2 separate regions of the Homo sapiens genome follow, and region 1 is linked to region 2. The links are contacts of gene promoters, found by promoter capture Hi-C in human tissues and cell types (Jung and others, 2019). All regions are on one chromosome and are shown on one strand. The core of a region is centred on a gene start or on the middle of the fragment in contact, and the rest is flanking DNA. Distances in the headings are between cores, read along the strand shown.

Region 1 (6,063 bases), core at 2,408-4,907, 590 kb before region 2:
TGCAGGAGGCTACTTCTGACCAGCTGCTGGCCCTTGACCCTCCTCTCCTGCCCTGGCAAGGCTGTCATCCCTGGGATAAAATGAAGCTTCTGTGGATTTCCACTTCCAAGTATTGTGTTTCTGAAATAGAGCCTATGTAATGAAATGACCTCTTCTTTAAGCCAGCCACCAACCTAATTTAGGAAATCTAGAGCAATCTCCAGGGCGACAGATTATAGGCATTAACATGCAAACAAACTGCCTTAAAAGTTCAAATTTGCATTTAGACTGGACAAAGGGGAAAGAAATGACTTTCTATGCTGTTCCTTGCATCATCATGGTTTCAAAAATTATAAATCTCTGAAATGGTGCCAGAAGGGAACTTCCTTAGCTTCTCTCATTCATACTTAACTTGGACTTCATTCATCTCTGAAAGCATGCCTTTTCACTCTCAATGTGAGATAAGAAAGAGTTGTAAACTCTCCCGCAGCTTCAGATGAAAGCAATTAGTAGAACAAAATTGAAGATCGCATCTTGAGTGTACAGACTCAGAGAAAAGATATAAAATATAGATTTTTTCACTTCCCTGATATGACACAATAATTTTACCTTTAAGACAATGTCTCTCAAACAAACTGTCCTACCAAGAAGACACATGCACTCACGTGTTCATCACAGCACTATTCCCAACAGCAAGGACATGGGGTCAACCTAGGTGCTCATCAGTGGTGGATTGGATAAAGAAAATATTGTACATATGCATCATGGGATACTGTGCAGCCATAAAAAGGAACAAAATCATGTCCTTGGCAGCAACATGGGTCCAACTGGAGGTCACTGTCCTAAGCAAATTAATGCGGGAACAGAACACCAAATACCACATGTTTTCATTTATAAATGGGAGCTAAACACTGGGTACTCATGGACATGAAGAAGGTAACAATAGCAACTGGGGACTGCTAAAGAGAGGAGGGAGGAAGGGAGAGGGCAAGAGCTGAAAAACTAACTTTTGGGTACTACGCTCAGTACCTGAGTGATGGGATCATTCATATTCCAAACTTCAGCATCACACAATATACTCAGGTAACAAACCTGTACATGTCCCCCTAGATTCTAAAATGAAAGCTGGAAAAAAAAAAGAGACAATGTTTCTCTTCAGAAGCTCCACGAAAATGTTATTTATTAAGTAATTACGTCGGTGTAATAATAATAATTATGGTAGGCATTCAATAATTATGTGTCAGGTACCTAGTAATTGACTTTGCATATTTTAATCTTTAAGACAATCCTGCAAGATGTGAATTTGGTTACCAACAAGGAAGATGAGCCCTAGAGAGTCAGTGTCCAGTACAAACAGTAATAGTTACTCCAGTTACCCAGGATGATGGTGACGTAATAGTTACCCAGTGTCCAGTACAAACAATAATGGTAACTCCAGAGGAAAAATCTCTTCCAGCATATTTTGATCTCTAAGGGCCTTAATTCAAAATCTTATTATACAAAGGAGCCATGTTTTGGGGTAAAGTTTCCTGTGCTTCTTCAGATCCAGAAATCAAAAATTTACCACACATAAAATTAAATATCTAGGAATTAACTTAACCAAAGAAGTTTCTATAATGAAAACTATAAAACATTGATGAAAAAAATTAAAGAGGACACCAAAAAAATTAAAAGATATTCCATGTTAATGGGTTGGAAGAGTCAATATTGTTAAAATGTTCATATTACCCAAAACAATCTACAGATTCAGTGCAATCCCTATCAAAATACCAATGATGTTCTTCACAGAAATAGAAAAAAACTATCCCAAAATTTATATAGAATCACAAAAGACCCAGAGGAGCCAAAACTATCCTAAGCAAAAAGAACAAAGCTGAAGGAATCACATTACCTGACTTCAAATGATACTACAGAGCTATAGTAACCAAAATAGCATGGTCCTGGCATAAAAACAGACACATAGAGCAATAAAACAGAATAGAAAACCCAGAAACAAATCCACACACCTACATTGAACGCATTTTTGACAGAGGTGCCAAAAACATACACTGGGAAAAAGACAGTCTCTTCAATAAATGGTGCTGGGAAAACTGGATATTCATATGCAGAAGAGTGAAATTAGACTCCCAGCCCTCACCATATACAAACATCAAGTCAAAATGGATTGAAGAGTTAATTCTAAGACCTCAAACCATGAAACTACTGAGAGAAAATATTGTGGAAAATCTCCAGGGCGTTGCTCTGGGCAAAAATTTCCTGAGCAACACTCTACAAGACAACCAAAGCAAAAATGGACAAGTGGGATCGCATCAAGTTAAAAAGCTTCTGCACAGCAGGGGATAAAACCAACAAAGTGAAGAGACAACCCACAGAATGGAAAAAAATGTTTTCAAACCACCCATCTGACAAGGGATTAATAACCAGAATATATAAGGAGCTCAAACAACTCTGTAGGGAAAAAATGTAATAATCCAATAAAAAAATGGGCAACAAATTTGAGTAGACATTTCTCAAAAGAAGACATACAAGTGGCAAACAGGCATTTGAAAAAGTGTTCAACATCGTTGATCGTCAGATGATGATCAGTATACTATTCAGTGTATCCAAAAGACAGACAATAACAAATTCTGTCAAGAATGTGGAGAAAAGACAACCCCTGTACATTGTTGGTGGGGGTGTAAATTAGTACAACCACTATGGAGACCAGTTTGGAGATTCCTCAAAAAACTAAAAATTGAGCTACCATATGATCCAGCAATCCCATTGCTGAGTATATGCCCAAAAGAAAGGAAGTAAGTTGCCGGGCGCGATGGCTCAGCCTGTAATCCCAGCACTTTGGGAGGCCGAGGCAGGCGGATCACGAGGTCAGGAGATTGGGACCATCCTGGTTAACATAATGAAACTCCGTCTCTACTAAAAATACAAAAGAATTAGCCCGGGCGTGGCGGTGGGCGCCTGTAGTCCCAGCTACTCGAGAGGCTGAGGCACGAGAATGGCGCGAACCTGGGAGGCGGAGCTTGCAGTGAGCAGAGATCGCGCCACTGCACTCCAGCCTGTGAGACAGAGAGAGACTCCGTCTCAAATAAATAAATAAAATAAAATAAAATAAAATAAACAGTGTAATTTGATTGTTCGTAACTCAAAGGATAAATGCTTGAGGGAATGGGTATCCCATTCTCTATGATGCGCTTATTTTACATGGCATGCCTGTATCAAAACATCTCATGTATCCCATAGATCTATATGCCTACTATGTACCCACAAAATTTTTTTAAAAATTTACCTGTCCCATGGTAGATACTCAGTAAATACGTGTTGAATGTAGAATGAATTTTAAAAAAAAAAACTGTTTTAGTATTACTATAACAAAAAGTAGACAGGGTAATAGATGACAAGCAGAAAAAAATGAATGAATGAATTTGAAATGCTTTTCTCTGTACTGAAATCCAGCTGGGCTAGAAAGCATTTATCCTTTAACATGATTGATGTATATATAATCTAACTGAAATGTCAGGTTTAAAGCACAGTTACAATTAGGTAGGTATATCTTACTTAGATATATGCTTTAAGAAGTTGGTATGCGGAAAGTTATTGCTGTACTTATAAAACCTAACACTTGAGGCACCCCTCATAGTATGAACTTGGGCCTCCTAAAGGAAACAATTCTCAATGCTAACAACTTTCTAAAACTAATTTTCCTCATCCATCATCCAATCATTAATAAATCTCACATTAATAATTCTGTACATTTCAGAATGAGAGGAAAGGGAAGCCTCAAGCGCCACCCGTGCCATTGCTCCCATACTTCTAAAAAGTAACTGTCTAGCTGAAAAAGTTTGTGCCCTGGGGCACGAGACTAATAGGAATTTCAAGACCCATTTTCTGTTAGCAACTTAATCTTTCTTTGTCCCCCATCTCAGCCAGCAAATACAATTTCATAATAACACAACTCATCTCTGTGTTTTTGAACTTGGCTTTGGATTGGGGATCATTGTGTCTTTGCCTTTAGATGTCTCACTCTGATGTATTCTATTTCAAAGGGAGAGATAAAACCCAAAGTTCATTCTCACAATGGGACATCCTTTAAAGCCAAAGAGAAATGTTGGTCCTCTTTGTGGCACACAGCAGCCCAGATCCACTTTGAGATTCTCTCTTGAAAGTCTCTGGGCAAGTGCAAAACGGTTTCCAGTGATTTATTTTGTGCCACTATCGGAATGGAATTGCTGTAGCTGTCTCCATGGCACAACTGGGCAGATTGAAGTTGTGGGAGTGAAGTAGGGTGAAGACCTCAGGGAAACAGGTTTCCTCATTGCCTCTTCCTAATTACTAGCCATGCAGCTGAGCTCTTCAGCACTAATGGCTCCACTGGGTATAGATAGCATCTACATATACCTTTGGAAGTCTAAATTTGGGCAAGAGGAATAAGGGATTTATTCAAACCCATAGTCATTTTCTCTCTCTCTCCCGCCACCCCTTCTCTCTCTCTGTCTCAACTCTAATTATACAAAAAAGTTTTTTGTCTATTTCTCCATTAGACATAACACATTTCACTTTAAAACTGTTTTTCTGTTGGTCTTTTAATTTACCATTCTTAAATTTCCCATAATCTTGATGAAATCTCTTCCTAAATATATTTCCTCCACCTTCGACTTCTTCTAATAGTCTTTGATTTCCAAAGGGATGCATAACTTCTTATTTATCTTTGTATCCCCAGTCCCTGAAAGAATGTCTAGCATGTATTATTCACCCAATAACATGTTAGTTCAGTGAATGACTGAAGGAATGACTCACCAAAATTTTAATCATTCACTCTTCTCTGAATCCTTCTCCTTTCTTTAAACATGCAGACAGCTGTCCTATCTCGCCAAAATGTTTACTCTCATTATATTCTGTACTTCCTGAAATAATTGATGTTTTGAAAGCACAAGACGGCATATCCTCTTCTGCCCTCTTCCCTAGTGAGAGCAATTTTATAACTAAAGAATTAGAGGCCAGGCGCGGTGGCTCATGCCTGTAATCCCAGCACTTTGGGAGGCCAAGGGGGGTGGATTACTTGAGGTCAGGAGATCTAGGCCAGCCTGGCCAACATTGTGAAACCCCTTCTCTACAAAAATACAAAAATTAACCAGGCATGGTGGCGTTCACCTGTAATCCCAGCTACTTGGGAGGCTGAGACAGGAGAATCGCTTGGAGACAGGAGAATCGCTTGAACCCAGGAGGCGGAGGTTGCAGTGAGCCAAGATCATGCCACTGCACTCCAGCCTGTGCGACAGAGCAAGGTTCTCTCTCAAAAAAGAAAACAAACAAAAATAAACAAACAAACAAAAAACTAGAGCAAGTGACCAGCCTTTAAAAGATAAGGAGTTTATCTCCACAGAAGCTAAAGTACAGGGGCTGAGAGCCTCCTCTTCACACCTACTCCCGCCTTTCTTGGATGACATGTCGTATCAACATCCTGATGCTGCCATGGCTTCCACTGGTAGAATGACAACTCAGATTTTAATGACAGCAATGGTATAATTGAGCTTAAGTAAAGTCTTGGATCACTGTTGTGCTAATGTTTTATCGACTTAATTTGCAAAATATTTTCTGCCTGCCAAACCTGCTGGGCATCATGCTAACTACAGGATGTTTTTAAAAAATCATATAGCAATCCAATACCCAATAAACTGATATACCAGAAAGAATATAAAGTATGTGAATGGGAATGAACCTCCATGCTTTGTGGTTGAAAATGATGCATCTCCTAAAAGGAGTTCAAAATACAGTATTACTGGGAGTTTAGGGGAGAGAGGTTAAGACTACCTGGGTGGGTCACAGAAAGCTTTAAAAAGGAGGTAGCATTTAACACAGCCTTGAAGGAATGAATTAATATACAAACACTTTCCAGTGGGATACTCAACAAAGCAAAAAGCCCTGATTTGTTGTGTTTGACACTTTCCATGTTGTCAATACTCCTACCATGGCTAGCAATTGGCTCTCAAGATTCCTGAAAACTTAACAGTTAGCTCTCATAAGCCATCTGTAGTACACCGCTGTTTGTTAAACTTTACTTGGGCAGCCTCTCTTATGAATTTCCATATT
Region 2 (7,031 bases), core at 4,101-6,600:
ACTAGAAGAACTGTTTTGGGTCACACATAAAATACACTAACAATGATGACAGCTGAAGAGCTAGAGGAAAAAAAAATCACAAAAAAACTCATAATGTTTTAACAAAGTTTATGATTTTTTTTGAGATGGAGTCTTACTCAAAAATCAAAAACCTGATGATTTTTTCAAATGAGCATTTACTCCATATTGTAAAATACAGAGAAATGGAGACATGGTGGTTGACCCTGAGGGGGAAGGAGTGCTGTCATTTGCTCCTGAGACTGTCAGAGCAGGTGGACAGCTTAAAGGACCCGTGGCTCAGGACCAAAACCTGAAATGCAGTATTCATGAATCCAAGTAATTAATAGTAGGGTTGGAAATATGAGGTGCGTGGGTGAAAAAGCCCAGGGCAATGGCCAGAAGGGGCAGGTCCACAGAAAAGGGGGGTGGAGGGAGACTGGGGAGGTAGACAGCCAGGACAAGGAAGATAATCAGGAGGGGCATAGGCCATGTCTTTTCCTTCCTTCCTCCTCCACATACCACATTACCTCAGTCCTTTAAAGTTCAGATCAAATGTCACCTCCCCCATGAAGGCCTCCCTGATTTCCACAGCTGACATTGAGCCTTTCCTCCTCTGTGCTCCCCTGGCTCACTCTCTCCTCCATCTGATCTTTGCCACACTCTGCCTCCTCCTATTTTAACTTCCCCCCCACCCCTCGCCCCCTGACAGCGTCTCACTCTGTTGCCCAAGCTAGAGTGCAGTTGCACAATCTCGGCTCACTGCAACCTCTGCCTCCCAGGCTCAAGCAATCCTCCCACCTCAGCCTCCCAAGTAGCTGCAACTACAGGCGCACACCACCACACCTGGCTAATTCTTGCATTTTTTTTTGTAGAGACAGGGTCTCACTATGTTGCCTAGACTGGTCTAGACCGGTCCTGGACTCAAGCAATTTTCCTGCTTCAGCCTCCCAAAGTGCTGGGATTACAGGCATGAGCCATTGCACCTGGCCCATATTTTAACTCTTTTAAAAGTTAACTGGTGTACGTCCTTTGCACTCCAGCTGCTTTGAATGGAGATGTGATGGATGAAGCTATGGCTACTATCTTGGACCACTGGGAGTCAACCATACTTTAGGGAGGGCGGGGCGAGGATCTGGAAGGACTTGACTTCCTAAGGACTCTGGGTCAGAAATGCCACCCCAACCCTGGACTGCCTATCTCCAGATTTTTATGTGAGAAAGATATATATGTTAAGTCAATTATTCGGGGTCTCTGTTAACTGCAGACAACCCCAATTTTAACTAAAGCATTGGGAATTATTTCTGACTCCTTTTCTACCTTTCTCTGCATCTAATCACCAAATCCATCTGATTCTACCTCCTTGATATGCCCCAGATCTGTAACCTTTTCTACATCACTGTTACCTCTACCTGAACTCAGGCAATCAGAATTTCTTGCCTGGATTCCTGTGTAAACCTTCCTTCTACCTAGTCTCCCCACTGTAGGGTTGTTCCTTCCAATCCACCTTTCATATCAGGAACTCAAATTAGCATATATACATATGTATATGTGTGTATATATATATATGTATATGTGTATATGTATGTATATGTGTGTATATATATGTATATGTGTATATATATACACACACAAAAAACTATATGCACACACACACATATACACACATACAGAAAAGTACAGAATCCAATGTGACAAATACTCAACCCCAAAATGGTGACAATTGTTAATCTGATCTGTATTTTTTCTTTTTTTCTTTTTTTTTTTTTTTTTTGGAGTCAGAGTCTTGCTCTGTGCCCAGGCTGGAGTGCAGTGGCACAATCTAGGCTCACTGCAACCTCTGCCTCCCAGGTTTAAGCGATTCTCCTACCTCAGCCTCCTGGGTAGCTGGGACTATAGGCACGCGCCACCACATCTGGCTAATTTTTGTATTTTTAGTAGAGACGGGGTTTCACCATGTTGGCCAGGCTGGTCTCTAATTCTTGACCTCAGGTGATCCGCCCGCTTTGGCCTCCAAAGTGCTGGGATTACAGGCGCGAGCCACCGTGCCTGCCTCTTATCTATAATTTTTATGAAGCTAATATGACAAAGTTGTCTCCTTCCCTCCACAAGGGCAAATACGCTCATGCCCTCCTAATCCTGTATTGAACCATATCCTTGGCATATTTTTTCAAACTTTTACATACATTTATGAATAAATGTATGTTATGGTTTTGTGTATTTTAAAAATATTGTCTAAGTGGCACCATATTATATGTATAATTCTATAGCATGTTTATGTTTTTGAGGTCTATCCATGGTGACATCTATTGAGTTCATTCACGTTAGTAGTTCTGTAATGCTCCATCATGAGACTGTAGCAGAACATCCATCTCTTCCTCCATCGATGGGCGACTAGGTTGTTCCCTGTTTTGCTTTTATAAACAATGCTTTACTGACAGCCTTAAAAATGTGTGAGAAGATCTCTAGGGTTTATACCTGGACATGTAATTGTTTTGGGAATAGTAGTTGTTATGTGTTGAAATGTGCCCCCAAAAAAGATACGTTTAAGTTCTAACCTGGGGAACCCATTAATGTGATCTATTTGAAAATAGGGTCTTTACAGATGTAATCAGGCGAAGATGAGGCAATTAAGATGCACCCTACCCCAATATGATTGGTGTCCTTAAAAGAAGAGAAGAGACAGACAGGGAGAGAACACTGTGTGACACCAGAGGCAGAGATTAGTGATGCCTCTAACAGCATACGAATGCCCAGGAGTGCAGACAATTGCCAGAAGCTAGGAGAAGCATGGAACAGAGTCTCTGAGACCCCATAAGGCACAAACCCTGCCAATACCTTGATTTTTGATTTTGGGCCTCCAGAATTGTGAGTGAATAAATTTCTGTTGTTTTAAACCACCCAATTCATGGGGATTTGTTACAGCAGTCTGAGCAAACTGATGTACTGGTATGTTTGAAATTCTTGTTTCTTGGTGCTGTAAAGAAATAGCACTTGAACATAAATTTAATTTCCTCAGCAAGGCCATCTTTATACTTTCGGCAGAAAGGGTACACTCGACAGCAGTTTTGCCATGAGAGTACACCAAACAAAGGAGACAAGGTCACTTATAACCTGATACATCCACCTTGCTGCTGTGTCCGGTTTTCATTGGCTGGAACAGGTCCTCACATTTTGTATTTGTTCTGATTGGCTAGCAACTTAGAACTTTTTAAAAGAGGCAAAGGCAGAGGAGAGCAAAGGAAGGAGGAAGTAACTTGTGGAATGCTGAGAAAGGTAAAAACACCTTCAAATAAGGAAGAGGAACAGGCTATGACCTAATGCTTGCTTGGACCAGTATAAGCATGCCAGGGCAAATATTTAGGCTAAATGGTGGCAGCTAGGAACATAAAGTACATTGATTTCTTTATTATGGCTAGCAGATATTTAAGACTGTTAGTACAGGTCTTTGAATACATTTTGTTTTTAAGAGAAGTTACTATTTATTTCTAATTAGACAGGGAGGAAAGTCTTTAAAGAAGAATCTCTACTTTACTTTTCACAGGTAGAATCCCAAGTCATGGCCTATAGGCGCATAGGTCAAGGTCATATGAGAGCATAAGGGTCTGAGACAGTAAATTGGAGCTGGGCCGGAAGGACCTAGAATGTGGCCCTAAGTAGGGGTTTAGACTTTACCATTCAGGCAACGTGGAGCCACAGAGGAGATATTAAATTGCCAAGGTACACAGTTCTATCTCGGTTTTATTTTATTTATGTATGTATTTATTTATTTATTTAGAGCCAGCGTCTCACTCTGTTACCCAGGCTGGAGTGCAGTAGCGCAATCCTGGCTCACTGCACTCTTTTTTTTTTTTTTTTTTTGAGTCGGAGTCTGGCTCTGTTGCCCAGGCTGGAGTGCAGTGGCGCGATCTTGGCTCACTGCAAGCTCCGCCTCCCGGGTTCATGCCATTCTCCTGCCTCAGCCTCCCGAGTAGCTGGGACTACAGGCGCCCGCCACTATGCCCGGCTACTTTTTTTTTGTATTTTTTTAGTAGAGAGAGGGTTAGCCAGGATGGACTCGATCTCCTGACCTCGTGATCCGCCTGCCTCGGCCTCCCAAAGTGCTGGGATTACAGGCGTGAGCCACCGCGCCCGGCCTGCACTCTTGAATTAATGGGCTCAAGCAATCCTCCCTCCTCAGCCTTCTGAGTAGCTGGAACAGGCACGCAACACCACATCCTGCTAATTTTTTTTTATTTTTTTAAGAGATGGGGGTTTCATCTTGTTACCCAGGCTGGTCTCAGACTCTTGTTTTCATGCTATCCTCCTGCCTCAGTCTACCAAAGTGTTGGGTTTACAGGCATAAGCCAACACACCGGGCCCCTACCTTGGTTTAAGAGACGAGTATCAGAGAAATAGACTACACATGAGAAAGACTCGTTTGACTTGTGGATGTGTCTGAAATTCATTTGCTTTTTCCTTTAAAACCGATTCATTTCCTTCAAAACCGATTCATTTCCTTCCACAAACAGTTATCAGGATTTGACATACACGAGTTTGTCATTAATGACCATGGGTTATTTTGTGCTTACTAAATCAGGCCCTGTTTTAGACATAATCTGCTAATCTTATTAATCCTCACAACTGCCCCACAAAATACACATGCGACCCTCTCCATAAAAGGGATAAGGAAGCCAGGTGCGGTGGCTCATGCCTGTAATCCTAGCAGTCTTGGGAGACTGAGACGGGCAGATCACTTGAGATCAGGAGTTTGAGACCAGACTGGTCAACATGGTGAAACCCCCGTCTCTACTAAAAATACAAAAATTAGCCGGGCGTGGTGGTGGCACCTGTAACCCAGCTACTCGGGGAGCTGAGGCAGGAGAATCGCTTGAACCTGGGAGGCAGAGGTTGTAGTGAGCCGAAATCACGCCACTGCACTCCAGCCTGGGTGACAGAGTGAAACTCCATCTCAAAAAAAAAAAAAAAAAAAAAAGGGTGGGGGATAAGGAAACATTCAGGAACGACGTGACATGACTTGTGCTTAGGGAAACTATTAGGGTTGAAAGTAAGGCCACCTTGGGTCCTAATGGCTGTAAGGCATCAGACAAAATACGTCAACTATGTCAGCCTACATTTTCTCATCTTTCAAACTGCCATAACAGCAGCCACCTCTTCGGCCGGCCAGGCCTGGCCCAGCTGGATTAAATGAATGAAGCGCAGCAAGGGCTGGGCGTAGGTAAACTGTGCAGTCATCCTCTTCCACGACCTCCGCTGAGCCCACGCCGCTCCGCCCGCCGGCCGCCAGGGATCGCTGTGACGTGGCTCGGGCCCAGCACGCGGCCGCTCTGGCCCAGGGAAGTCCCTGTCCTTACCTTCAGCAGGAGCCGGTTCCCTGTGTGTGTGTCCGCTCGCCCTCTGCTCCGTCCTGCGGCTGCCCACTGCCCTCCTACGGTCCACCATGGCCCTGCTGCACTCCGGCCGCGTCCTCCCCGGGATCGCCGCCGCCTTCCACCCGGGCCTCGCCGCCGCGGCCTCTGCCAGAGCCAGGTAAGCCAAGGGAAACGGAGATGGAGCCAGGGCGATGGCCCTGCCCCGCCGAGCTGCGAGCACCCCAGGACATTCACCCCTCCCGGCCCCCAAATACACACTGTCACTCACACGCACACACACACACTTTTCTGCCACCCCCTCGGCTTTCCCTTACTGGGGACTGAGGATTGAGCGTCCGTGCCCCACAGTGATCCTCAGGATCCCACATCCCTCTGGTCCCCGCACTGGGCCCTGCAGGAAGGCGTGCAACGCAATCCCTAGGGAAAGGAAGTGTGGCCCTCGGCGGTTGCCGGACTCCCATTCAGTGGGAGGGGTGCGGATAGTACTGGGGCAGCGGCGCCGGGTAACGACCGTGCCCTTGATAGGGTGCCCTGGGGGCGGCGGGCGCACCTGTCCTGGCCCCCGGCCCGCCCGAGTCGGTGGGCCGGCGGCGGCTGGCTGCCGCGTGTGTGCCCTGGGCGGGAAGAGCGCGAGAGGAAGGTTTCCGGGGCGCCGGCATTCGGGCCTCGCTTTCCTTCCCGCACCTGCGACCTTGGCGTGCGGCATTCTCCTGACCTTGCGACCCCCCGAGGTCCCTGTGACCCCGGGGCCCGTTTGGCCTTTGCTTGGGAAAGGGTCGAGGTGTAGTGTGTCTCTTTTTTTGTTTTGTTTTGTTTTTTCCTTATTGCCCCTAAGGAGGTCCGGTTGCAGGGAGGCTATCAATCTTCCTCTCCATCTCCCTGTGCTCTTTCATTCAGTAAATATTTCGTAACTGCAGTTTCTCAGAGCCAGGCTCTGGACCAGATGCCAACGATACAACTGTGAACAAGGCGAGGGAAGGACAATGACAAATGGTCATTGCTCAAAAAATGACAAACGTAATTTCGTACTGTGGCGTGTATAATAGTATGGAGGGAAATTTCAGAGCTTGAAACGAGCTCTAGTAATTCATTCCCAGTGGAGACCGGAGCCAGAAGATTAATTCAACTCAAGAAGCCGATTTGGAGCACTCTCCTTAAGCACTACCTTAATAAGGAACTGAGTTTTAAAACCACCCCCAAGCAGGTATTAACTGCAAGGAGCAAAGCGTAGCTTGGCCTTTCGTTTGAATGTATGCTCTGTGTCTTTCAGCCAGCAGAACTATCTGTCCTTTCCAAGGCCCCACAGCCTTGGCAGTACAGTTTTGCCCAGGCTTCGCACTTTTTTCTCTTCCTGACTTGGCTCCTTCCTGGCCCACTGTCAACGTGTGCTCTTTAAGTCTGCCTACCTAGTGGGCCAGAGCCAGGAGGAGTTATTTATGCAACAAATTTGGAAAACCAAAGGAGTGCTTAAAATTTCCGTCAAGAGAAAGTATGTTTCCCTATTGCAGTAATCTTAAAATAATACCTTGTTTTATGGATTTGGCTAGATCACCTGAAGCTCTAGTGCTTGGTGAAAATCCCTTGGGGTCAGGGTTAGTCATTCTTTCAGTTTGAGAGTCTGACTCATTTTTCTTTTCTGTATTTTTCTTACTAGAATGTAAG

What was found. Contacts are between HindIII fragments. The study calls those that stand out against the background at their distance.
Region 1: a fragment that was not itself captured here is called in contact with the fragment with the promoter of GOT2 in region 2 in 2 of the 25 tissues and cell types used here (heart left ventricle and mesendoderm cells).

Annotation. Positions count from the first base shown.
Region 1 is chr16:59,323,389-59,329,451 of GRCh38, reverse strand. No RefSeq gene overlaps it. Among named protein-coding and RNA genes, the nearest start is that of LINC02141, 530 kb to the left of the region's middle. The HindIII fragment of the contact is 4,925 bases long and covers 1,195-6,063 here.
Region 2 is chr16:58,732,635-58,739,665 of GRCh38, reverse strand. It overlaps GOT2 (glutamic-oxaloacetic transaminase 2), which reads left to right and starts at 5,350. Exons shown (of 10, transcript NM_002080.4): 1 at 5,350-5,526. The coding sequence starts at 5,438. RefSeq lists enhancers at 5,226-5,305, 5,005-5,623 and silencers at 5,746-5,835, 5,936-6,025. The HindIII fragment of the contact is 7,339 bases long and covers 5,196-7,031 here.